Regions from separate parts of the Homo sapiens genome. Here all the other regions are linked to region 6. Evidence: promoter capture Hi-C in 16 types of primary human blood cells and fetal thymus (Javierre and others, 2016). All regions are on one chromosome and are shown on one strand. Each heading gives the region's core, a stretch centred on a gene start or on the middle of the fragment in contact. The rest is flanking DNA. Distances are from core to core; before and after follow the strand shown. Region 1 overlaps VHL (von Hippel-Lindau tumor suppressor). Region 2 holds the start of IRAK2 (interleukin 1 receptor associated kinase 2). Region 3 overlaps IRAK2 (interleukin 1 receptor associated kinase 2). Region 4 overlaps THUMPD3 (THUMP domain 3 tRNA guanosine methyltransferase). Region 5 overlaps THUMPD3 (THUMP domain 3 tRNA guanosine methyltransferase). Region 6 holds the start of BRPF1 (bromodomain and PHD finger containing 1). Region 7 overlaps IRAK2 (interleukin 1 receptor associated kinase 2).

Region 1 (2,941 bases), core at 442-2,941, 420 kb after region 6:
AGTAGAGACGGGGTTTCACCGTGTTAGCCAGGATGGTCTCCATCTCCTGACCTCATGATCTGCCCGCCTACGCCTCCCAAAGTGCTGGGATTACAGGCATCAGCCACAGCACCTGGCCTATGTATTTTCAATTTAACACAATCAAGCTCACAGTGCCAATCAGAGGTGTTTTTTTTTTTTTTATTTTTATTTTTAGAGAGTCTCACAGTGTCATCCAGGCTGGAGTGCAGTGGTGCGATTTCAGCTCACTGCAACCTCTGCATCCTGGGTTCAAGTGATTCTCCTGCCTCAGCCTCCTGGGTAGCTGGGGTTATAGGTGCCTGTCACCACACCTGGCTAATTTTTGTATTTTTAGTAGAGATGAGGTTTCACCATGTTGGCCAGGCTGATCTTGAACTCCTGACCTCAGGTGATCTGCCCACCTCAGCCTCCCAAAGTGCTGGGATTACAGGCGTGAGCCACTGCGTCCAGCCTGTTTTTTTTTTTTTTTAAATCATTGAAGATTGGTATAATACTTCACTATTTGTTTGAAGCTCAAATGATTTTATCAGGGTAAACCCTAATAAACTGATGTTCCTGTGGGTAAAAAAAACCTCACTAAAGACCAGCAGTGTGTGGTGGCTCCTGCCTGTAATCATGCCTGTAATTCCAGCACTTAGGGAGGCTATGGCGGGAGGGTCGCTTGAGACCAGGAGTTCTTGACCAGCCTGGACAACAAAGTGAGACCCCAGCTCCACAAAAAAATTTTTTTTTAATTACCTGGGCATCTTAGCATATGCCTGTGGTCACAGCTATTTGGGAGGCTTAGGTGGGAGGATCCCTTGAGCCCAGGAGTTTGAGGCTGCAGTGAGCCATGATCATACCACTGCACTCCAGCCCAGGTGACAGAGTGAGATCCTGTCTCAAAAAAAGAAAAAAAAAACTCAAAAACCCCCCAAATACATGGGTTTCATAGGATTCAAACTACTATGTGTGTATAGATCCTGTTTTAAGGAAGTAGATATATAAAAATGAGCATTGCTAAGTTAAATTTGGTAAATTTGCCTTATAGAATACCCTCGAGTACGTTTCCAGTGAGTGTAAAATAGGAATTGGGATACCCAATTCAGTTGTACTAGATTTTCTTTTTTTTTTTTTTTTTGAGACGGAGTCTCGCTCTGTCGCCCAGGCTGGAGTGCAGTGGCGGGATCTCGGCTCACTGCAAGCTCCGCCTCCCGGGTTCACGCCATTCTCCTGCCTCAGCCTCCCAAGTAGCTGGGACTACAGGCGCCCGCCACTACGCCCGGCTAATTTTTTGTATTTTTAGTAGAGACGGGGTTTCACCGTTTTAGCCGGGATGGTCTCGATCTCCTGACCTCGTGATCCGCCCGCCTCGGCCTCCCAAAGTGCTGGGATTACAGGCGTGAGCCACCGCGCCCGGCCTAGATTTTCTAAGTACACATTGTTTTGGTTATGTGTTTTGTGACTACCACCCCAAAACTAATAACCACCTTTTTTTTTTTTTTGAGACAGAGTCTCACTGTGTCACCCAGGCTGGAGTGCAGTGGCGTGTGATCTTGGCTCACTGCAACCTCTGCCTCTCGGGTTCAAGCGATTCTCCTGCTTCAGCAGCTGGGACTACAGGTGTGCACCACCAAGCCTGGCTAATTTTTTGCATTTTAGTGGAGACGGGGGTTTCACCATGTTGACCAGGCTGATCTTGAACTCTTGAGCTCAGGCAGTCTGCCTGCCTCAGCCTCCTAAAGTGCTAGGATTACAGGCGTGAGCCACTGCGCCCAGCCCACCATTTTATTTGTTCATAATTCTGTAGTCCAGGCTGGGCTCAGCTAGGCAGTTACTCTGCTGGTGGTAGTCGTTGGTGTGGCTGCCTTTTGCTGGCAGCTGGGGGCTGGGCCTGTCCCTCTTTTTTTTTTTTCTCTTTTCTTTTTTCTTTTTTTTCAAGATAGGGTCTCACTCTGTCACCCAGGTTGGAGTGCAGTGGCATGATCTTAGCTCACTGCAACCTCTGCCTCCAGGGCTCAAGTGATCCTCCCACCTCAGCCTCCCCAGTCGCTGGGACCACAGGCATGTGCCACCATGCCTGGCTAATTTTTTGTGTATTTTGTAGAGACGGGGTTTCGCCATGTTGCCAGGCTGGTCTCGAACTCCTGAGCTCAGGCGATCTACTGACGTTGGCCTCCCAAAGTGTTGGGATCACAGGCATGAACCACCATGCCTGGCCAGGGCCTGTTCCTCTTTATGTGGTCTCTCTAGCAGGGTAGCTCAGGGCTTTCAAAAGTATAAAAGCAGAAGTCAGCAGGCCTTTTTAAGGCTTCGGCCTAGAATTGCCAGTGTCGCTTCATCCACATTCAGTTAGTTAAAGCAATCACAAGCCCAGCCCATTTCAAGGTGAAATTACTACAGAGGCATGAACACCATGAGGTGTCCATAGGGGGCCATCAGCATAACACACTGCCACATACATGCACTCACTTTTTTTCTTTAACCTAAAGTGAGATCCATCAGTAGTACAGGTAGTTGTTGGCAAAGCCTCTTGTTCGTTCCTTGTACTGAGACCCTAGTCTGCCACTGAGGATTTGGTTTTTGCCCTTCCAGTGTATACTCTGAAAGAGCGATGCCTCCAGGTTGTCCGGAGCCTAGTCAAGCCTGAGAATTACAGGAGACTGGACATCGTCAGGTCGCTCTACGAAGATCTGGAAGACCACCCAAATGTGCAGAAAGACCTGGAGCGGCTGACACAGGAGCGCATTGCACATCAACGGATGGGAGATTGAAGATTTCTGTTGAAACTTACACTGTTTCATCTCAGCTTTTGATGGTACTGATGAGTCTTGATCTAGATACAGGACTGGTTCCTTCCTTAGTTTCAAAGTGTCTCATTCTCAGAGTAAAATAGGCACCATTGCTTAAAAGAAAGTTAACTGACTTCACTAGGCATTGT
Region 2 (3,431 bases), core at 227-2,726, 430 kb after region 6:
AGCTCACTGCAGCCTCAAACTCCTGGGTTCAAGAGATCCTACCACCTTAGCCTCCTGAGTAGCTGGGACTATAGGTGTACACTACCATGCTTGGCTCATTTTAAAATTTTTTGTAGAGGCCAGGCGTGGTGGCTCATGCCTGTAATCCTAGCACTTTGGGAGGCCGAGGCAGGCGGATCACGAGGTCAGGAGTTCAAGACCATCCTGGCCAACACAGTGAAACCCTGTCTCTACTAAAAATACAAAAATTAGCTGGGCGTGGTGGCGCGTGCCTGTAATCCCAGCTACTCGGGAGACTGAGGCAGGAGAATTGCTTGAACCGGGACCTGGGAGGCAGAGGCTGCAGTGAGCCAAGATTGCGCCACTGCACTCCAGCCTGGGCTACAGAGCAAGACTCCGTCTCAAAAAAAAAAAGTTTTTTGTAGAGATAAGATCTTCCTATGTTGCCCAGGCTTCTACTTTCATTCTCCAACATAGCTTATCTGCCTATTTTTATTGCTTGTTGTCTGTCTCCCTCCAGGACAAGGATTTTGTCCTTCTCTTCAGAGGTATTCCCAGCACCTACAACAGTGCCTGGCACATAGTAGCTGCACGATACATATTAGCTACTATAGTAAAGTCTACCTGACTACCCTATTTAATAGAATATTCCCCATGCTCAATCTGAATTCCTGATTCCCTTTAACCAACTTTTTTTCCTTTTTTTTTTTTTTTGCAATAGTGCTTATTACCTTTAAGACACTCTGTAACATACTATATTTATTATTTATTGTTAGTCTTTCTCTCCACACCTAGATTGTAAGTCTTATGAAAGCAAGGGCTTTTGTAGGCTTTTTTTTTTTTTTTTTTTTTTTTTTGAGACAGAGCCTCACTCTTCACCCAGGCTGGAGTACAAGGGCACAATCTGGGCTTACTGCAACCTCCGCCTCCAGGGTTCAAGCGATTCTTCTGCCTCAGCCTCCCAGGTAGCTGGGACTACAGGCGTGCGCCACCGTGCCCGGCTAATTTTTGTATTTTTAGTAGTGACGGGGTTTCACCATATTGGCCAGGCTAGTCTCGAACTCCTGACCTCGTGATCCGTCCGCCTCGGCCTCCCAAAGTACTGGGATTACAGGAGTGATCCACCGCGCCCGGCTGTAGGGTTTCTTATTCAGGTATTACCAACACCTAGGGAGTTGCCTGGCATACAGTAGGTAATTAATGGAGTATTTGATGAGCGCATGATGCATGGTGTAGTGCCGATGGAAGTGGGGTCAGAAGGCCTCCTGCCGCTGCGGCAGAATTCCCGTGTGGCCTTCTCCCACCAGGGCCTCAGTTTCCCCTCGCAGTTCCGATTCTCTGGCCGGCGCTGGGGTGGAGCCGGCGGGGCCGTCGTGCCGCCCGTGGCCGCTGGGGACGCTGGTGCCCTCCCGCCCCGCCCACTTCCCCGCCGGTCCGCCCCTGGCTAGAGAAGCCGCAGCCCGCAGTGTCCGACCCAGTCGTCCCGCGCCGGAGCCGGCCCCGTAGCGTGCCATGGCCTGCTACATCTACCAGCTGCCCTCCTGGGTGCTGGACGACCTGTGCCGCAACATGGACGCGCTCAGCGAGTGGGACTGGATGGAGTTCGGTGAGTGCGGCCCGGGGAGGGGAGGGGACCAGGGCGACCGGAGCCCCCAGCGATCCCGCCTGGAGCGGCCGCCAAGCTCCCTCGGGCACCCGGGTTCAGCGGGTCCCGATCCGAGGGCGTGCGAGCTGAGCCTCCTGGACCGGGTCCGCCGCGGACCTCGGCCTGTCACCTGAAGGTGCCGCGTGGTCTCTGAGGACGTCTGTCGACGAGCAGGGGCCGCCGCCACTGCGCTCTGAGTCCAGAGAACGGTGGGTACGGGGGCCCTCCTGTCAGCGCTGCTGGCTCGGTGACGTCCCCAGGTGGCCTCTCATCCAGCCCACAACAGCCTGCAAAGTGCGAGCCTCGACCCTGTAGGGACCCACGGTGCTGTCACTTCTTGGGGGGGTGTGTGTGTGTGTGTGTGTGGTGTGTTTAGTTTTAGTGTATATTAGAAGGATCTATGATTTAACATATATATATATATTGAAACGGAGTTTCGCTGTTGTTGCCCAGGCTGGAGTGCAATGGCACGGTCTCGGCTCACTGCAACCTCCACCTCTGGGATTCAAGCGATTTTCCTGCCTCGGCCTCCCGAGTAGCTGGGATTACAGGCGCCCGCTACCACCCTGGCTAATTTTTTGTATTTTCAGTAGAGACCGGGTTTCACCATGTTGGCCAGACTGGTCTTGAACTATTTTTTTTTTTTTTTTTTTTTTTTTTTAAGACGGAGTCTCACTCTGTCGCCCAGGCTGGAGTGCAGTGGCGCGATCTAGGCTCGTTGCAAGCTCCGCCTCCCGGGTTCACGCCATTCTCCTGCCTCAGCCTTCTGAGTAGCTGGGACTACAGGCGCCCGCCACCACGCCCGGCTAACTTTGTATTCTTAGTAGAGACGGGGTTTCACCGTGTTAGCCAGGATGGTCTGGATCTCCTGACCTTGTGATCCGCCCACCCTGGGCCTCCCAAAGTGCTGGGATTACAGGCATGAGCCACCGCGCCCGGCCTCCGGAACTCTTGATCTCAGGCGATCCACCTGCTTCGGCCTCCCAAAGTGCTGGGATTACAGGCGTGAGCCACTGTGCCCAGCCTATTTATCATATTTGTGATTAAATGTACTTTACCATTATAGTTTTAAAATCAGATATTTACTTTTAGTGTACATTGTTTTGATCACAGTATTTATGACTATCAACCTGTTTTGAGATCAGATGTGTCCTAATAGATTCAGTGTGTATAATGGGGCCTAAGCACAAGCACTTACTTTCACTCTATTGCAAGGTGCACAGTTCTAGATAATTCCGTGGGAAGGCACTCAGACAGCCTCCATATGTTTTGTTTGTTGGTGCCTGACGGATGACTGGCGGAGAGGGCCATGGACTCTGCGGGGAGGCCGCTTGCCTGTTGTCTCTGCTTTCCAGGTGGAGATCTGCATTCCAGGCTCTTGCTGTATGACTTTGGGCCAGTTTGTTAACCTCTCTGAGCCTCAGCTTCTGAATCTGTATGTAAACTGGAGATGATAATTATAGCTTCTTCATAAAGTTGTGAGGAATGAAAATACTGTATAAAAGCACTGACACCTAAGTGTTAAATATTCTTATAAGTCATAAGTTGTAATATTCTCTTTTCATTTTTATTTTTTTGAGACAGTCTCATTCTGTGGCCCAGGCTGGAATGCAGTGGCGAGATCTCGGCTCACTGCAGCTTCCGCCTCTTGGATTCAAGTGATTCTCTTGCCTCAGCCTCCCGAGTAGCTGGGATTACAGGCATGTGCCACCACGCCCACTAATTTTTATGTTTTTAGTAGAGATGGGGTTTCGCCATGTTGGCCAGGCTGGTCTCGAACTCCTGA
Region 3 (3,120 bases), core at 212-2,711, 480 kb after region 6:
ACCGGATGAACATAACTGCAGTCTGAGGGATGCGGGCCAAGGGTACTGAGCTGAGGCCAAGAGAAGGCAGGGCAAGGGTGGAAGTGGCCATCACAGAGCAGCCTTTCTGCAGGACGGGGGCCCTGTGCTGGCCAGCAGAGGCCTCCATTAGTCCAGGTCCTTGGTGAGAGGCAGATACCAAGACAGGATAGGATTTCATCAACAAGATAGGATTTCATTAGGACAAATACTTGCAAGAAAATGCAGAGGGAGCTGGGCAAGGCTGGGAGAGCCTTGGGACCATGGTGCGCCATTTCCGAGGAAGGCTGGGTGGGCACTTGCTGGCCTGCCTTCGGTCTAAGGCAGACTCTCCAGGGTGTCCGTTGGCCATCACAGTCCTATCTGCCTAGTGTACCCTCTGCACACAGTGCCTGGGGAACAGCCCCTGGGAAGCATGGTCCGGATGCAGATGCAGGGATTGATTGGAGCCAGCCACAGCCAGGCCCGCAGATAGCCAGGCTCCCAGCAGCTGGGGGTCTCCAGCTCGCATTCTCCTGGCTGCTAGATTCACACAGCAGCAGGGCAAAGATCCCAGGAATGAGGCTGAGGGCAGCCCCTTGACAGGCTCCAGACCTTGTCTCAGGTGATTTCATGTTATCAGCTATCTGTGTGGGTTAATTGTTTAGCCAGGCTGATTTTACTTTCAGTCTCGTGAAATAAAATTTTTTGTTTTTTGTTTTTTGAGACTGAGTCTCGCTCTGTTGCCCAGGTTGGAGTGCAGTGGTATGATCTTGGCTCACTGCAACCTCTGCCTCCCAGGTTTAAGCGATTCTTGTGCCTCAGCCTCCTGAGTAGCTGGGCCTACAGGCATGTGCCACCATGCCCGGCTAATTTTTGTATTTTTAGTAGAGACAGGGTTTCACCATGTTGACCAGACTGGTCTCGAACTCCTGACCTCAGGTGATCCACCTGCCTCAGCCTCCCAAAGCGCTGGGATTACAGGTGTGAGCCACTGTGCTGGCCAAAACAAATTTTTTTTTTTTGATACAGTCTCGCTCTGTCCCCCAGGCTGGAGTGCAGTGGCACAGCTCAGCTCACGGCAACCTTTGCCTCCCTGGTTCAAGCAATTCTCCTGCCTTAGCCTCCCAAGTAGCTGGGATTACAGGCACTCGCCATCATGCCAGGCTAATTTTTGTATTTTTGTAGAGATGGGGTTTTACCATGTTGGCCAGGCTGGTCTTAAACTCTTTTTGTTTGTTTTTTTGTTTGTTTGTTTTGAAGTGGAGTCTCACTCTGTCACCCAGGCTGGAGTGCAGTGGCACAATCTTGGCTCATGGTCTTAAACTCTTAACCTCAGGTGATCCACCTGCCTCGGCCTCCCAAAGTGCTGGGATTACAAGCCTGAGCCACTGTGCCCAGGCCAAAATAAATTTTTTAATAGCCAAAGTTCCAGATGAGTCATTCCTTTCCTGATGTTGTAAGCCACAAATACCTGAAGCAGGTAGATTTATCCAGTAATCTTGGGGTCAAGTCCAGTTTCCTTTGGAAGGGTCAGGTCCCCAGTTACTCAGAAGCTGTCCTTGCCATGGGGCTTCCTAGGTATTTCCAGATGATGATGTTTGAAGCCTCTGGCCTTTGGCCAAGGCCTGCTTCTGTGCGGACCAGCCACCATGGCTCACCTCACCCACGGTCTGTGCCTGCGCCCACCGAGGAGCCCCCCTACCAGATGGCCTCATTAGTCTTCAGATTAATCTTCACATGGGGCCTAGTGAAGAAATTTCACCCTCTTTAACCTCACGTTTAAGTGACCCTAAACTACTTGTCAAACATTCCGTCTTGTGAATCTTGTTCACTCACTAAGGGATTGGGGCATAGACATGGCCAAGCATGGTGGCTCACGCCTATAATCCCAGCACTTTGGGAGGCCGAGGCAAGTGGATCACTTGAGGTCAGGAGTTCAAAACCAGCCTGGCCAACATGGTGAAACCCCATCTCTAATAAAAATACAAAAATTAGCCGGCATCATGGCGCACGCCTATAGTCCCAGCTACTTCGTAGGCTGAGGCAGGAGAATCGCTTGAACCTGGGAGGGGGAGTTTGCAGTGAGCTGAGATTGTGCCACTGCACTCCAGCCTGGGTGACAGAGTGAGACTCTGTTTCCAAAAAAAAAAAAAAAAAAAGAACATAGACACTGGAACCACTGATGACTGTGTGCCCCATGTGAAGATTAATCTGAAGACTAATGAGGCCGTCTGGTAGGGGGGCTCCTCGGTGGGCGCAGGCACAGACTGTGGGTGAGGTGGGCCATGGTGGCTGGTCCGCACAGAAGCAGGCCTTGGCCAAAGGCCAAGGCCCTTGGAAAAGTGACTTAACTTCTCCATGCCTCATTTCACCATCTGCAAAGAGGCAATGAAAATGGTGCAGTGGTACCTTATTTCCTGATTGGCATGAGGATTAGATGAGTTAACGCACGGGAAGGATTTTTTTTGAGACAGGGTCTCATTCTGCCTCCTAGGCTAGAGTGCAGTGGTGTGATCATGGCTCAATATAGCCTTGACCTCCTGGGCACAAGTGATCCTCATCCTCCCAAGTAGAGGGGACCACAGGTGTACACCACCATACCTGGCTATTAAAAAAAAATCTTTTGTAGGACTGAGCGCAGTGGCTCATGCCTGTAATCCCAGCACTTTGGGAAGCCAAGGTGGGCAGATCACGAGTTCAGGAGATCGAGACCATCCTGGCTAACACAGTGAAACCCCATCTCTACTAAAAATACAAAAAATTAGCTGGGTGTGGTGGCGGGCGCCTGTAGTCCCAGCTACTCGGGAGGCTGAGGCAGGAGAATGGTGTGAACCCGGGAGGCGGAGCTTGCAGTGAGCCGAGATTGTGCCACTGCACTCCAGCCTGGGCAACAGAGGGAGACTCCATCTCAAAAAAAAAAAAGAAAAAAAATCTTTTGTAGAAACGGGATCTTGTCATGTTGCCCAAGCTGATCTCAAACTCCTGGGCTGAAGCAATCCTCCTGCCTCAGCCTCCCAAAGTGCTGGTATTACAGATGTGAAGTATTTAGAACAGTGCCTGGCATGATGTTTGCTAACTCATGTACCTAGATGTTAACTTACTCCAGCCCCGGGCCCTTCT
Region 4 (3,318 bases), core at 76-2,575, 370 kb before region 6:
TTGTGTTTTTGGTAGAGATGAGATTTTGCCATCTTACGCAGATTGGTCTCGAACTCTTGGCCTCAAGCAATCTACTCACCTCAGCTCCCTAAAGTGCTGGGATTACAGGCATGAGCCAGTGTGCCCAGCCCAGTTAATCATTTTTAAATGCATGAAATGCTATTTCACAGGAGGGAAGAAGATAGATAGCCTATTAATAAGTTTTAATTATTGGCCTAACCAGGTACTACTCTCACTTGTCTCCTAACGACTCTAGGAAAGAGGTATTACTAATTACTTAATTACATTTGAAGGTTTGGGAGAATTAATTTGCCATAAGTCATTCAACCTATGATGGTGGAGGCAAGAATTCAAACCTGTATCTATCTGAAACTCCAAAAGCCCCATATTATTATTATTATTATTATTTATTTTATTTATTTATTTATTTTTTTGAGACAGAGTCTTGTTCTGTTACCCCAGCCGGAGTGCAGTGGCATGATCTCAGCTCACTGCAATCTCCACCTCCCGGATTCAAGCAATTCTCCTCCCTCAGCCTCCCAAGTAGCTGGGATTACAGGCTCCCACCACCACACCTGGCTAATGTTTGTATTTTTAGTAGAGACGGGGTTTCACCATGTGGGCCAGGCTGGTCTTGAACTCCTGACCTCAGGCAATCTGCCCGCCTCGGCCTCCCAAAGTGCTGGGATTACAGGTGTGAGCCACCACGCCCAGCCAAGCCCTATATTCTTAACTAACCATGTTCTTAACATCTAGATGCAGAAATGGATTTGAATGTGATCTGCAGTTTCTGTCGTAGTTATGAAATGGCTTTTGTCAACATGGGTTACCCCAAAGCAAACATTGCATGCTATGGAAATACTTCTTGTCTCTTTTTCTCCCATGGTATCTGTATTGCTTCTTTAATAATAACATCATGTTTTACAGCCTGCACTCTGTGCCCATGTTTATTCAACCCTTTTTACTTTGGTGACTGTTTATCAGATGTGTTGCCTTGTTCTTCCTGCCCTCCAGAGCCCATGTTTTTAATTATAACTGAAATATGAGATGATAATATTTGGGCTTTATTTCTTTTTCTTTTAAAGGACAGTACTGCTTTTAAAGAGACAGTGTTAGGGATCTTGGAAGCACAGCCAACATGTGTGACATTGAAGAAGCCACTAACCAACTCCTAGATGTGAACCTTCATGAGAACCAGAAGTCTGTACAAGTGACAGAAAGTGACCTCGGAAGTGAATCTGAGCTTCTAGTCACTATTGGAGCCACTGTACCTACTGGCTTTGAGCAAACAGCTGCAGATGAAGTCAGAGAGAAACTTGGGTCATCATGCAAAATCAGCAGAGACCGTGGCAAGATATATTTTGTCATTTCAGTGGAAAGTCTGGCACAGGTTTGAATGGAGCAATATTTAAAATAGTTTTCTAAGTTGATCATTTTATGGTTACTTTTCATTTTATAGACCCTTCTGGAATCCTTTCTGATTTTCATTGCTCTGCCCCAAATCAGGTGATTTTAAAGTTACTGCATTTTCTATTGAGTACTGATTTGTAATTTTGACTGTAGTTTCAGTATCCCTTAGGACCAAAAGTGTTTCAGATTTTTGGAGGGGGGTGGGGGGAGTTTTGGAATATTTGCATTATACTTGCCAGTTGAGCATTTCTTTTTTTTTTCTTTTTCTTTGAGACAGAGTCTTGCTCTGTCATCAGGCTGGAGTGCAATGGCGCGATCTTGGCTCACTGCAACCTCCGCCTCCCAGGTTCAAGCAATTCTCCTGCCTCAGCCTCCCCAGTAGCTGGGACTACAGGCGCCCGCCACCGCATCTGGCTAATTTTTGTATATTTAGTAGAAACGGGGTTTCACCATCCTGGCCAGGCTGGTCTCGAACTCCTAACCCCGTGATCCACCCGCCTCGACCTCCCAAAGTGCTGGGATTACAGGCCTGAGCCACTGCGCTCGGCCTGCCAGTTGAGCATTTCTAATCTGAAAATCCGAAATGCTGCACTGAGCATTTCCTTTCAGCATTGTGTTGGGGCTCAAAAAGTTTCAGATTTTTAGATGTGGGCTGCTCAACCTGTAGTAGGATTGCTACATTTTTAGAGGTGATCTAGTATTTCTTGAGGATTGAATTCACCAGAAAGAATACTGTTCAACTTAAGAAATTCTCTAAGTATCTCAGTATTTATTTACTTCAGCATATAGCAGATGTTTAACCTTTGGTGATGAAACATAAAAGAGATTTTCCTTTTAATTTGCATCAAAAATTCTTGCTCAGAAGTAATTAGGACTCACTCAAGGTAAAAAGTGAAGGTCAGAAAACTGCAATCTCACTATCATAAAGCTGATATATCTCATTACCACATAAGCAGTGAGAGGGCAAGGATTGTTGTCTATTTTTTTTTCCACCAATATATCCCACGCTCTTAGTGTCTGGCATATAGTAGGTACCCAGAAAATATCTGTGGGATGAATTGGTAAGCAAATGTTTTCCATCCAATATTTTAGCCAATACCCTCAGCAGCTTTGTGAAGATAGGCACTATTATTATCCTCATTAATCATTAGGCTTAGGACACATAAATAATTTCCCCAGGGCCACTCAGCTAGTAATCACAGAACTGGAGCTCAAATCCCCTGCTTTTAACCATTGCAGCATACAGTGTACCCTAGAAAGTCATCGAGGAAATATGATACAGCCCACCTGAGTGGCTTCACCTTTCTCTTCTCCCACAAAAGACGTGTTGCCCACAAAACACTTCATGCTTCTCTCTTTCCATCTGCCCTTTTTCCCTTTCTCTAGGGGAAAGCTGATTAGTAACCAAAGAGATGAGAAACTAGGGAGATGGGACATTTTAAAAATACAAAATATAGTTAGTAGCTGCTTTAAAACTATCATTCCTAATTTTTTAAATACTTAATTGTTGATAGCTTGTGCTGTTCAAAAGCTTTCTCAGAAATGTGTTTCTTTTTTTTTCACCCAGGTTCATTGTCTGAGATCAGTTGATAACTTATTTGTGGTGGTTCAGGAGTTTCAAGATTACCAGTTCAAACAAACAAAGGTGAGCTATCCTAAACATGGTGGCTGATTTTTGGCTGTCTTCCACAAAGAGATTATTTCCATTTTTCATAGTCTGTGAAAGTTTAGCATTACTGTAGTCTTTGTAATAGAGAATACTGGGAGGCTTTTACAGTAAAATCTAGAGTTTTGCTGACAGTCTATCCCAAAAGATGTTTTTTGAAAATTAGTATTGAAAACCATTAAAGTTTATAAGAAAGAAGAAAACACCTTGTTTTACTTGTAAGAGATATAAACCTTAGATTT
Region 5 (3,208 bases), core at 19-2,518, 350 kb before region 6:
GCAGAGGTACGTACATACAAAGTGTTTTTGGGAGGGGCACATAAGACTGCTTGGAGAGTTAAGGTTGATGTTGAAAGGGCATGAGGTTTGAGCTGGGTCTTAAGAGATGGGTAGAGGTTCAGCAAGCAGAGAAAGAATAAGAGGGCATTTTCAGCCAGGGAAATAGCACAGTTGACAACATGCAATGTTTTGCCACTCTAGAAAAGCACTGGATTTTCTTTGTTTGTTGACAATTTAATCATATTTTACAGTTTGCTACTTTTGTTTTAACATACACTCTTATCTTTTAGGGGGCCACTGAATGGTCTGACTGTTTCCATATTGCTGGTGATAATAATCCACTGGCTGTGAATAGAGCAGCAAATAACATTGCATCTTTATTGACCAAGAGCCAAATTAAAGAAGGGTAAAAATTTAAAAGATTTCTTAGCATCTTTTAGAGTTAGAGAATCACTTTTTATATTGACTTTATGAATTAAAACTCCCAGTGCATTGTGACGTCATTGTAACCAAAATGAATATACTATGAGACTCCATTTACATTTTTAAAGTTTATTGAAAATAAGTTATATTTTTAAAATATTATTTTAGCGATAATTTCCCCACCATATGCAATTTTTCATTTGTCTTATTCATATGTCTTTTCCCCTACATATTGGAAGAATATTTTATAGACTCATTTTAATTTCACAAAATTTTAAACAGTATATTTTTACATAGGCTTCTTTTTTGCTTTGGGTACAGGGTCTCATTTTGTCACCCAGGCTGGAGTGCAGTGACATGATCATGGCTCACTGTAGCCTCAACCTACTGAGCTCAAGCAATCCTCCTGCCTTGGCCTCCCTAGTAGCTAGGAATACAGGCATGTGCCACCATGCCCAGCTAATTTTTTAAAATCTTCGTAGAGATGGGGGTCTTGCTGTTTTGTCCAGGCTGGTGTCAAACTCCTGGCCTCAAGAGATTCTGCCGCTTCAGCCTTCCAAATTGCTGGGATTAGAGACGAGTCACCACACCTGGACCATAGTCTTTAAAGTCACTACATAAATTCCATCGTATAGAAATACTGCAGTTTATATAGCCTCGCCTCTATTTTATTACTAAGTCATTGGTTATATATTTCATTGTCTCTCTGATCTAATTTTTTAGGACAGTGCTTCTCAAACATTAATGTACATGTGAATCACCTAGGAGTACTGTTAACACAGATCTGATTTAGTAGTTTGGGATGGGACCTAAGAGTCTGCATTTTCCAGGAAACTCCAGGACAATGCTGATGCTGCTGGTCTATGTATCAACATTAAATCCTTTTACGTGTATTAAGACAAGTAGTTGGAAGGCTTCAATTTTCTTAAATACTGATTTATTGTGATGAATTAATTTTGAATGGTTGTTTCATATTTATTGAGGGTTTTTTTTAATGAGCCTAGTATATGGCCAGTCTTTTTTTTTTTTAATTAAAACTGATAAACATTTAAACAAACGTACCTTTCTAGCTTCTGAATATTTTATCTTGTTTGTACCTACACTGTCTGTTCAACCCGTACTTTTTTTTTTTTTTTTTTTTTTTTTTTTTTTTTTTTTTTTTGAGACGGAGTCTCACTCTGTCGCCCAGGCTGGAGTGCAGTGGCTTGATCTCGGCTCACTGCAAGCTCCGCCTCCCGGGTTCACGCCATTCTCCTGCCTCAGCCTCCCAAGTAGCTGGGACTACAGGCACCCGCCACCATGCCCGGCTTATTTTTTTTTTGTATTTTTAGTAGAGACGGGTTTTCACCATGTTAGCCAGGATGGTCTCAATCTCCTGACCTCATGATCTGCCCACCTTGGCCTCCCAAAGTGCTGGGATTACAGGCATGAGCCACTGTGCCCGGCCTCAACCTGTACATTTCTATCCATTTTACTTTGGTTTTTAATATTTTTTGCCTTTTGTTTTGTGCAGTTATTGGTATGCGGTTATAATACATATTTTATGTGTACTTTTAAAAATTATGTAATGATTGCTTTTATTGCATTTTTTTCTTAAATTCTTCATTAAATGTCAATTAAATCCTTAATTTCTGCTGATAACCTTTGACTTATCTTCAGTTCTTAGCCTGTGCATTATTTTGTTTCTTAAACCAGTTGCTTTGCCTTAATGAGGAGGATTTAAATCCTTTGTATTTATTATTATTCATTCTGTCTTCTGTCATCTATATTTTTTATCTTAACTTTTTTCTTAGTCTTGTTTTATATAGCATGGCACATATTTTCCTTTTGGTTTTTCATCTTGAAACAATTACCTATATATTTGCCAATTTTACTATCTGTTTTTCTTTTAGGCCTCCTGTTATTACTAGTTTTACAAACTTTATTCTTCAGATACATCACCCCATTATCTATTCTTTAGTATTGTTTTTCTCCAGTGTATGTTTTATCAGCAACTTAAATTTTTGTATCATCGGTTATGTAATTTACTGCTTCAGCATTGTTTTTAAAGTTGTCTTTTGCAGTTCTCTGCATTACAATCATGTTTTCAGTTTGTTTCCCTTTTTTCTGAGACGGGGGTCTTGCTCTGTCACCCAGGCTGGAGTAAAGCGGCACAATCCTAGCTCACTGCATCTTTCAACTCCTGGACTCAAGTGATCCTCCCACCTCAGCCTCCTGAGTAGCTGGGACTATAGGTGTGTGCCATCATGCCCTGCTAACTTCTTAAAAAAGTATTTTAGAGACAAGGTCTCACAGTGTTGCTCAGCTGGTCTCAAATTCCTGGAGTCCAGTGATCCTCCCACCTCAGCCCCTGAAAGTGCTGATTATAGGCACAAGCTACCATGCCCAGCCTGACCTATTTTTTACCTTTGTGCCATTTCTTAAATTTTGAATAGGTTGATATTATCACTGATATCCTTAGCAGTTTATGTTTTGCTGTAGCAGTCTCTCTTCAGAAACAAAAATTGTTGTAATAACTTTATGCTTCACAGTATGTTGAAGCACCTTTCCTTTGTCCCCACAGCAAACCCTCCTGGGGCTTGCCCATAGATGCTGTTCAGTGGGATATCTGCAATCTGCCATTGAGAACTGGCTCTGTGGATATTATTGTAACAGATTTGCCATTTGGAAAAAGGTGAGAAATACTAGTACCTGCTTGTCTTCTAAATATGTCATTATTTTCCTTGCGTTTATTCTAAGTCAGGAAAAAAATCTTGAATTTTAGCAGACTTAGCAGAGCTGTTTT
Region 6 (2,984 bases), core at 389-2,888:
AGGCCCATAGTTGTTTTTTTTCTTTTTTCCATAAAATCCGAATCCTACACACGACCCATAGTTCTCAGCAGATTCTCAAACGAATTCCTGACCACTAAAGGAGATAACTTAGTATAACTCTGCTTTGATCCATCTATTCTGAATTATTTTAATAAGGATAATAACAGCTAATATTTTCTTTGAACATTCACTACATGTCAAACCGTGTGCTAGGTGATTTACAAGCATCATCTCATTTAATTCTCACAACAACTCTGAGAACAGGTACTATATATTATTCCCACTTTACCCATAAGGAAACTGAGGCTCTGAGAAGATGAGTCATTTAAGATAATTCATCAGTTTGACTTCAGATCCCAAGATCTTAATCAGCAAACCTCTTCCTGGCATGTCGATTTTATTGGGATGGTTTTTAGAAAACATACATTTTATTGGGTCAAATGCAAAGTTTGCATTAAGAAGATAGAAGCTTTCAGATGCTTTGGGCTTTGTCCCAGAACCCTGGAAGACCTTTCACGCTCCTCTTTGATGACAAAACTGGAGAAGTATTGTTTAAGGATGTCTCCCCCTGCCATGCAAGTTCTCTGAAACCCTCAAGAACTAACAACAGAGTTTTCGAGCTCTGTTTTACAAATAAGGAACTTAAAGAACTGAACTTGCCCACGTTCACATTGCTAGGAGGTGACCCACTCACATTAAATCAGCTGTTTTGGCACCATGTTCCAATCAGCAACCCGCAGCACATCCCTGCCAACCCACAGATTTCCCACCGCTTTACCAGACAAGCCCTTTCACACCCACCGGCCCCAAACCAGCCCCTTCTCTCAGACCCATACCTTTTCTCTAGCACCTCTCCTTTACTTTTCCCAAGTTTCTTCCCTTTCCTTCAGTCACGCCCCGTTATCCCTAATCGGTCCTGCCCTTTCCCCACAGCTCCGCCCCTGCCTTACCAAGCCCCGCCTGCTCCCTTCAGCGTCGCATCGCTTTTTCCAACTTTGTTCTTTATTTCTAGTCCAGCTCCACTTTCCAGGCTCATCCAAAGCTCCGCCCTTTCTCTCGCGAGTACTCTTCTTCTGTTTAGCCCCACTTTTTACCCCGCTATTCTAACAGGCCCCCGCTGTGCGGTAGCCCCGCCCCCTCCCACAAGCCCCGCCCCACAGACCGGTCTAGTCTCCAGCCCCGCCCCGGTCCTACCCATAACTACCGGTCCCTTAGGCTCCAGCCCGCATCCCTCTTGCTCCCGGCCCTGCCCCCAGCCCCGCCCCGTGACTCTGGCCCCGCCTCACCGCCTTCCTCCGAGACCAAGGCCAGGTCCCTCCCGCAGCCGCGGCGCCAGCAGGAGGCAGGGAGCGGATAGGGAGGAGGCAGAGGGGGAGGGGAGAAGGGCGGGCTCCTCACGCCCAGCCCCGCGCTCACCGTCCGTGGTTGCAGATTCGCCACAAACCGCCCGACGACCCCAGATCCCGAGTACGGTGACTTCAGTCTCCAGAAACTCCACTCTAAGATGGGAGAGCTAGAGAAGCCCTGTGGGGTGTCCAGGGTCCTTTCTGAATCCCGGAGCACGGTCTTTCGAGCCTCAGCGGGCGGGCGGGGATCCGTGGCGAAAGTGCAGCTCAGTAGCGCCGCGGCGCCACGTTTACCCTGCGCAGACGCCGTCGCCGCCGCTGCTGCCGCCGCCGCTGCCACAGCCTTTGCCGCCACGGTCTCCGCCGCCGCTGTCCTCGCGCTGCCTCTGGGAGCCTCCATTGTTCCAGCAGCGCCCGGTCCCGAGACCGGGCATCTTGGGGGCTCGCGAAACGGGCGGCGGCCGACGGAGTTGAGACCCCAGGGCGCCGGCGGGACCAGGAGCGGCAGGGGTCAGCTCAGGAATCCCGGGGAGCCGGGACCAAAGCGTGGGGCGGCAGGGGGCCGGGGTGGCGAGGTCTACGGTCTCCGGAGTTGGGGCTCCCCCTTCCCGGCCCGACTTTCCCCGCCGACCTCCCCAAGTGGGGTCGGAGCCCCGGCGGGCGCCCCCGGCGATGAGCCCGGACTCGAGGTGGCCGGTGAGTGCGGGCCTGGGACCAGGGCGGGAGTGGCCGGCAGGGAAGGGGTAGGCTACGTTCGTGGGACGCGCACTGAGCCGCGTGGCCCGGGAACCTCTCTGGCAACTCCAGTTGGGAGAACTGACAGTGCATTGCTTCCCAGCAGGCATCCTGGGGCAACAGTGTATCTTTCGGGGCTGCCCGGGCTAGTGGCAGGCGGGGAGCCTTGTTTCACTTGTTACACTTCCACAAAGGGGAAACGCCGCCGCATCCGGAGAGTGGGCTGCGGGCACTGCCGGGGCCCAGCCCTATCCCTCCGGCCCCCGCCCCTTACTTCCTCCAGCCCCCTGAGCTTCAGGGGCAGATGCAGCCGCCATTCTCCTTGGGCCCTCCCCACGGGCTTTCTGGTCTAAGTTCTCGTCTCCCTCGCCTGTGCCTCTGCTGCCGGGTTCCAAGGGGAGATTGCTGATTCGCTGTGCTACTTTGGGAACCATTCACCCGGGACCCAGCTTGGAAAGAGGAGAGCTTGTTTGTGCTTCGGTTGGTTTATGTTTAAAGACACAGCCGCAGGTAGGAAATAGAAGAGTTGCAGTTGGACGTGTAGCGTTACTGATGTGAAAATCAGGAGCCGTTGACAGTGGAGCTGGAGCAGCCCACTTGCCTGGTTAAGGCACAGGTGGAGAGGCCAAGAGGGGTTATTTTGTCAGGGAGCTCATGATAGCCCTGCCTGGCTGGGATGGTGCCAAGCCCCTAGCTGAATGGTTGAACTCAACTAGGCCGAGAGAAATTGGGGCAGTCTCTGACCAAGCTGGGCTTCCTGAGGCCTGGTGCCATCTGCTGTCTACACTCACCCAGGAATGTTGGGGAGCGGGGAGGGAGGGCCCCTGCGGACCAGCATGGAGCTGAGCATGCCTAGATTGTCGCGTTCGTGTTTGTACCCTTAGGGCCTGGCACTTGGTAGTC
Region 7 (3,235 bases), core at 289-2,788, 460 kb after region 6:
ATCCCTGACCTCAGTGATCCACCCGCCTTGGCCTCCCAAAATATTGGGATTATAGGCATGAGCCACTGCGCCTGGCCTAAAAATACATTTGCTGAGTGCCTACTGTGCGCTAGATGCTGGGGATGCAACCATGAAAACACAGCCAAGGTCTCAGGCCTCATGGAGCTTACAGTCCAGTGGGAGATGAATTATAAGAAGCTAACACACAGATGCATGTCACCCACTGCAGTATGAGTGCTCAAAGGATAAATGTAGGTCAGGTGGGGAGGGCAGGTAGGAGAGTGCAAGATGAGAGGATTTGATCTCATCAGGGGAAGTTTCTCTGAGGCAGTGAAACTTGAGCCTCCTCCGTAAGGAATAGTGGACCAAGAAGTGAAGGACGACACACACATATCTAGCCGGGGGGAGCAGCATGTACAAAGGCCTGGGGGTGGGCTGAGGCTGGGGACAGGGCAGGGTCAGGCCACCCAGTGCCATGCAGGCTACCGCCAAGAGTTTGCTTTCACCGGAGAGTGAAGGGAAGACGTTGGAGGGCTTCCACCTGGGAGTATCCCCTGTTTTGGCCACTATATGGACTGGGGGGCTGGGCCTGTGAGGTTCCAGATGTCAACTGAGTAGGACAGGAAGACACTTCAGGAATCCGAAGGGATTTGGGAAGTGACCAAGGTTTTCTCTTCCCATCTGTTGCTACTATCTACCTGAAGTCTTGAGTTTCACAATTTTCATGCAGTTTCTTCTTGGTTGTGCAACTCTTGACAGTTTCTAACTTTGGGTTTGGCATCTCGGCCAGAGTCATTTCCTTCCTGGAGCTGGGCTCTCATTGAGTGGAAAATTTGGGGCTGCTATGTAAAATGAAACAGAAGAGAATGAACCCTTCCTCTCCGGAAGGGGCCGGGCTGTGCCAGGTCCAGACAGGGCTTGTGTGTCTGCTCTCTTGGAAGGCTGCCCTGCCTCCGCCCCTTTCCAGCTGCTAGGGCACAACAGAACATGCCTACATCCAGACCCTGCCCACTGCAGACTTGCCACTGGAGGCGACACTGTTTTGGGCCAAAACCACAGGCCAGGGGTCAGAGCACCTGGGTTCTAGTAATAGCTTGTGTTTAGCACCTGATATGTGCCAGGTAAGCATCTTTTCTCACAACTCTTATTATCCCTATTTTATAGAAGAGGAAACTGAGGCTCAGAGATTAAGTAATTTCCCAAGGCCACATAGCCCATAGTGATGAGGCCAACATGGGAATTCAGGTCTGCCTGACCTTACCCGCTTCTTGGTAGGTTACTAGATTGCATCATCACTTGCCCCATCTGGAAAATGGGTAAAGACATTGCCCTATCTACTTTTCTTGTAGACTGGGAAGGTTCAAAGCATACGAGATGGTGAGGTTTTCTTTGTTTCTTTTTTTTTTTTTTTTTGTGAGACAGAGTCTCACTCTGTTGTCCAGGCTGAAGTGCAGTGGCATGAGCTTGGCTCACTGCAACCTCTGCCTCGTGGACTCAAGCAATTATCCTGCCTCAGCCTCCCGAGTAGCTGGGACTACTGGCGCCCACCACCACGCCCAGCTAGAGGTTTTCTTAAAGTTAATTGCTGAGTGGCTAAGGACAGGTCACTTGACCTTTTCCTTCCATGCATTCATTATTCCATTGGAAAAAAGCAAGGCTTTAATCACTGTTGGTCTCTTGAGAGTGGTGTTAGAATGAACAGAGTGTGGAATGCCTCTAAGCCAGTCCCCAGTGTTTCAGAGAGGAAGGGTAAGAGCTAGGGTGAAGTGAACCATCCTTTATTGAACTCCTGCTAGATGCTTAGCTCTTACAACTAGTCTCCTCCAGTTGCAAGTTTTGGACACATACTCAGATGATGCATTAGCCAGGATAGGCTTGGTTATGCTGCGGTATCAGATAAACCTTGAAATCTAGTTCCTCAACGCAACAAATATTGATTTCCCACTCACCTGAAGTCCAGTAAGGGTCATGCAGCCTCCTGCATTCTTGTAGCCAGCTAAGTCATCTAGAACATGTGGCTTCCAAAGTCACTGTGGCTGGGGAAGAGAGGGTTGGAAGAGGCTCACTAGCTGTTAAGTGCTTCGTCCAGGAAGTGATAGATAGCATCTTCACTTAAAATCCACTGGCTAGGCCGGGCGCGGTGGCTCAAGCCTGTAATCCCAGCACTTTGGGAGGCCGAGGCCGGCGGATCACAAGGTCAGGAGATCGAGACCATCCTGGCTAACATGGTGATACCCCGTCTCTACTAAAAATAAAAAAAAATTAGCTGGGCGTGGTGGCGGGTGCCTGTAGTCCCAGCTACTCAAGAGGCTGAGGCAGGAGAATTGCTTGAACCCGGGAGGCGGAGCTTGCAGTGAGCCGAGATCGCGCCACTGCACTCCAGCCTGGGCAACAGAGCGAGAATCTGTCTCAAAAAAAAAAAAATCCACTGGCTAGAACCAGTCGTGACGCCCAGCCTAATTGCTAAGGAGGCAGGAGTATGAGACAGAGCAGATGGTTATTTGGTAAGTACTCTCTCAGCTACAGGTTACCTCAGTTCCAGGGCGCTTACAGTAAGGTTCTGCCTAACTGTGGCCTACAAGGCCCTGCATGGTCTACCTTTGCCCGGCTCTTCAACCTCACCTCTACCACTTTCCCCCTCAGTCATTCCCCTCAGCCACTACGGTCATCCTTCACTTGCGGGGATATGCCAAGTGTTTGCTGCCTAAGGACCTTTGCACACGTGTTCCCTCTCCTTGGAATGCTGTCTCTCCCCAGCTTCCCTACATTCTTCCATGCTAGTCCTTTTCATCCTCTGGGTGTCTGCATATGTGGCCCCTTCTCATGGCAGCTTTTCCTGGCCAGCCTATGGAAGTAGGTCCATCAGGCACCCCTCCCTCGAGTTTGTTTTCAGCATAGAGCACCTCCCAGTTTATAATTAGATGTCTTTTATTTAACTAGCTTAATGTCAGTATTACGGCAGTTTTGATAAAGGATTCCCCATTCCCTAACACAAAATGAATGAATGAATGAATGAGAAAGAATGAGTCATTTCAGCAGCAGGTGGAGTACAAGTTCAGTGGAGAACCAGGGATCGCACAATTAGGAAGGCAGGCTGTGCTCTCAGGTTTGCCTCATTTCAGGTCTAGCTTGAGTTGGGAGTGTGTGTGTGTGTGTGTGTGTGTGTGTGTGTGTGTGTTGTGTGTTGTGTGTGACTGTGTATGGCCTGGAGGGCCAAACCCAGGGATTAGGAGGG

Evidence for each region. The method cuts DNA at HindIII sites, captures the fragments that hold promoters and counts their contacts. A CHiCAGO score of 5 or more calls a contact.
Region 1: a contact is called between a fragment that was not itself captured here and the fragment with the promoter of BRPF1 in region 6, in 2 of 17 cell types (monocytes and neutrophils). The highest score is 8.1, in monocytes.
Region 2: the fragment with the promoter of IRAK2 here is called in contact with the fragment with the promoter of BRPF1 in region 6 in 1 of 17 cell types (monocytes); the score reaches 6.2 in monocytes.
Region 3: a fragment that was not itself captured here is called in contact with the fragment with the promoter of BRPF1 in region 6 in 1 of 17 cell types (monocytes); the score reaches 5.4 in monocytes.
Region 4: a contact is called between a fragment that was not itself captured here and the fragment with the promoter of BRPF1 in region 6, in 9 of 17 cell types (fetal thymus, total CD8 T cells, naive CD4 T cells and 6 more). The highest score is 10.4, in fetal thymus.
Region 5: a contact is called between a fragment that was not itself captured here and the fragment with the promoter of BRPF1 in region 6, in 6 of 17 cell types (naive CD8 T cells, naive CD4 T cells, total B cells and 3 more). The highest score is 5.7, in naive CD8 T cells.
Region 7: a contact is called between a fragment that was not itself captured here and the fragment with the promoter of BRPF1 in region 6, in 4 of 17 cell types (naive B cells, monocytes, total CD8 T cells and 1 more). The highest score is 6.4, in naive B cells.

What each region holds. Positions count from the first base shown.
Region 1 is chr3:10,147,192-10,150,132 of GRCh38, forward strand. VHL (von Hippel-Lindau tumor suppressor) reads left to right here. Exons shown (of 3, transcript NM_000551.4): 3 at 2,596-2,941. The coding sequence ends at 2,774. Among named protein-coding and RNA genes, the nearest start is that of VHL, 6.9 kb to the left of the region's middle. The HindIII fragment of the contact is 5,547 bases long and covers 1-2,941 here.
Region 2 is chr3:10,163,443-10,166,873 of GRCh38, forward strand. IRAK2 (interleukin 1 receptor associated kinase 2) reads left to right here and starts at 1,477. Exons shown (of 13, transcript NM_001570.4): 1 at 1,477-1,606. The coding sequence starts at 1,513. RefSeq lists silencers at 1,312-1,441, 1,642-1,791. The HindIII fragment of the contact is 5,632 bases long and covers 1-3,431 here.
Region 3 is chr3:10,205,853-10,208,972 of GRCh38, forward strand. The region is part of intron 3 of IRAK2 (interleukin 1 receptor associated kinase 2); the gene reads left to right. Among named protein-coding and RNA genes, the nearest start is that of TATDN2, 41 kb to the right of the region's middle. The HindIII fragment of the contact is 5,031 bases long and covers 1-3,120 here.
Region 4 is chr3:9,363,931-9,367,248 of GRCh38, forward strand. It overlaps THUMPD3 (THUMP domain 3 tRNA guanosine methyltransferase), which reads left to right. Exons shown (of 10, transcript NM_001114092.2): 2 at 1,086-1,390; 3 at 2,978-3,055. The coding sequence starts at 1,139. Among named protein-coding and RNA genes, the nearest start is that of THUMPD3, 2.5 kb to the left of the region's middle. The HindIII fragment of the contact is 3,227 bases long and covers 1-2,939 here.
Region 5 is chr3:9,380,213-9,383,420 of GRCh38, forward strand. It overlaps THUMPD3 (THUMP domain 3 tRNA guanosine methyltransferase), which reads left to right. Exons shown (of 10, transcript NM_001114092.2): 7 at 291-406; 8 at 2,987-3,097. Among named protein-coding and RNA genes, the nearest start is that of THUMPD3-AS1, 15 kb to the right of the region's middle. The HindIII fragment of the contact is 6,287 bases long and covers 1-3,208 here.
Region 6 is chr3:9,730,097-9,733,080 of GRCh38, forward strand. BRPF1 (bromodomain and PHD finger containing 1) reads left to right here and starts at 1,639. Exons shown (of 14, transcript NM_001003694.2): 1 at 1,639-2,042. RefSeq lists enhancers at 1,075-1,634, 2,195-2,754 and silencers at 1,098-1,457, 1,928-1,977, 1,988-2,117. The HindIII fragment of the contact is 5,381 bases long and covers 468-2,984 here.
Region 7 is chr3:10,188,884-10,192,118 of GRCh38, forward strand. All of the region lies in intron 2 of IRAK2 (interleukin 1 receptor associated kinase 2), which reads left to right. Among named protein-coding and RNA genes, the nearest start is that of IRAK2, 26 kb to the left of the region's middle. RefSeq lists an enhancer at 720-799. The HindIII fragment of the contact is 8,152 bases long and covers 1-3,235 here.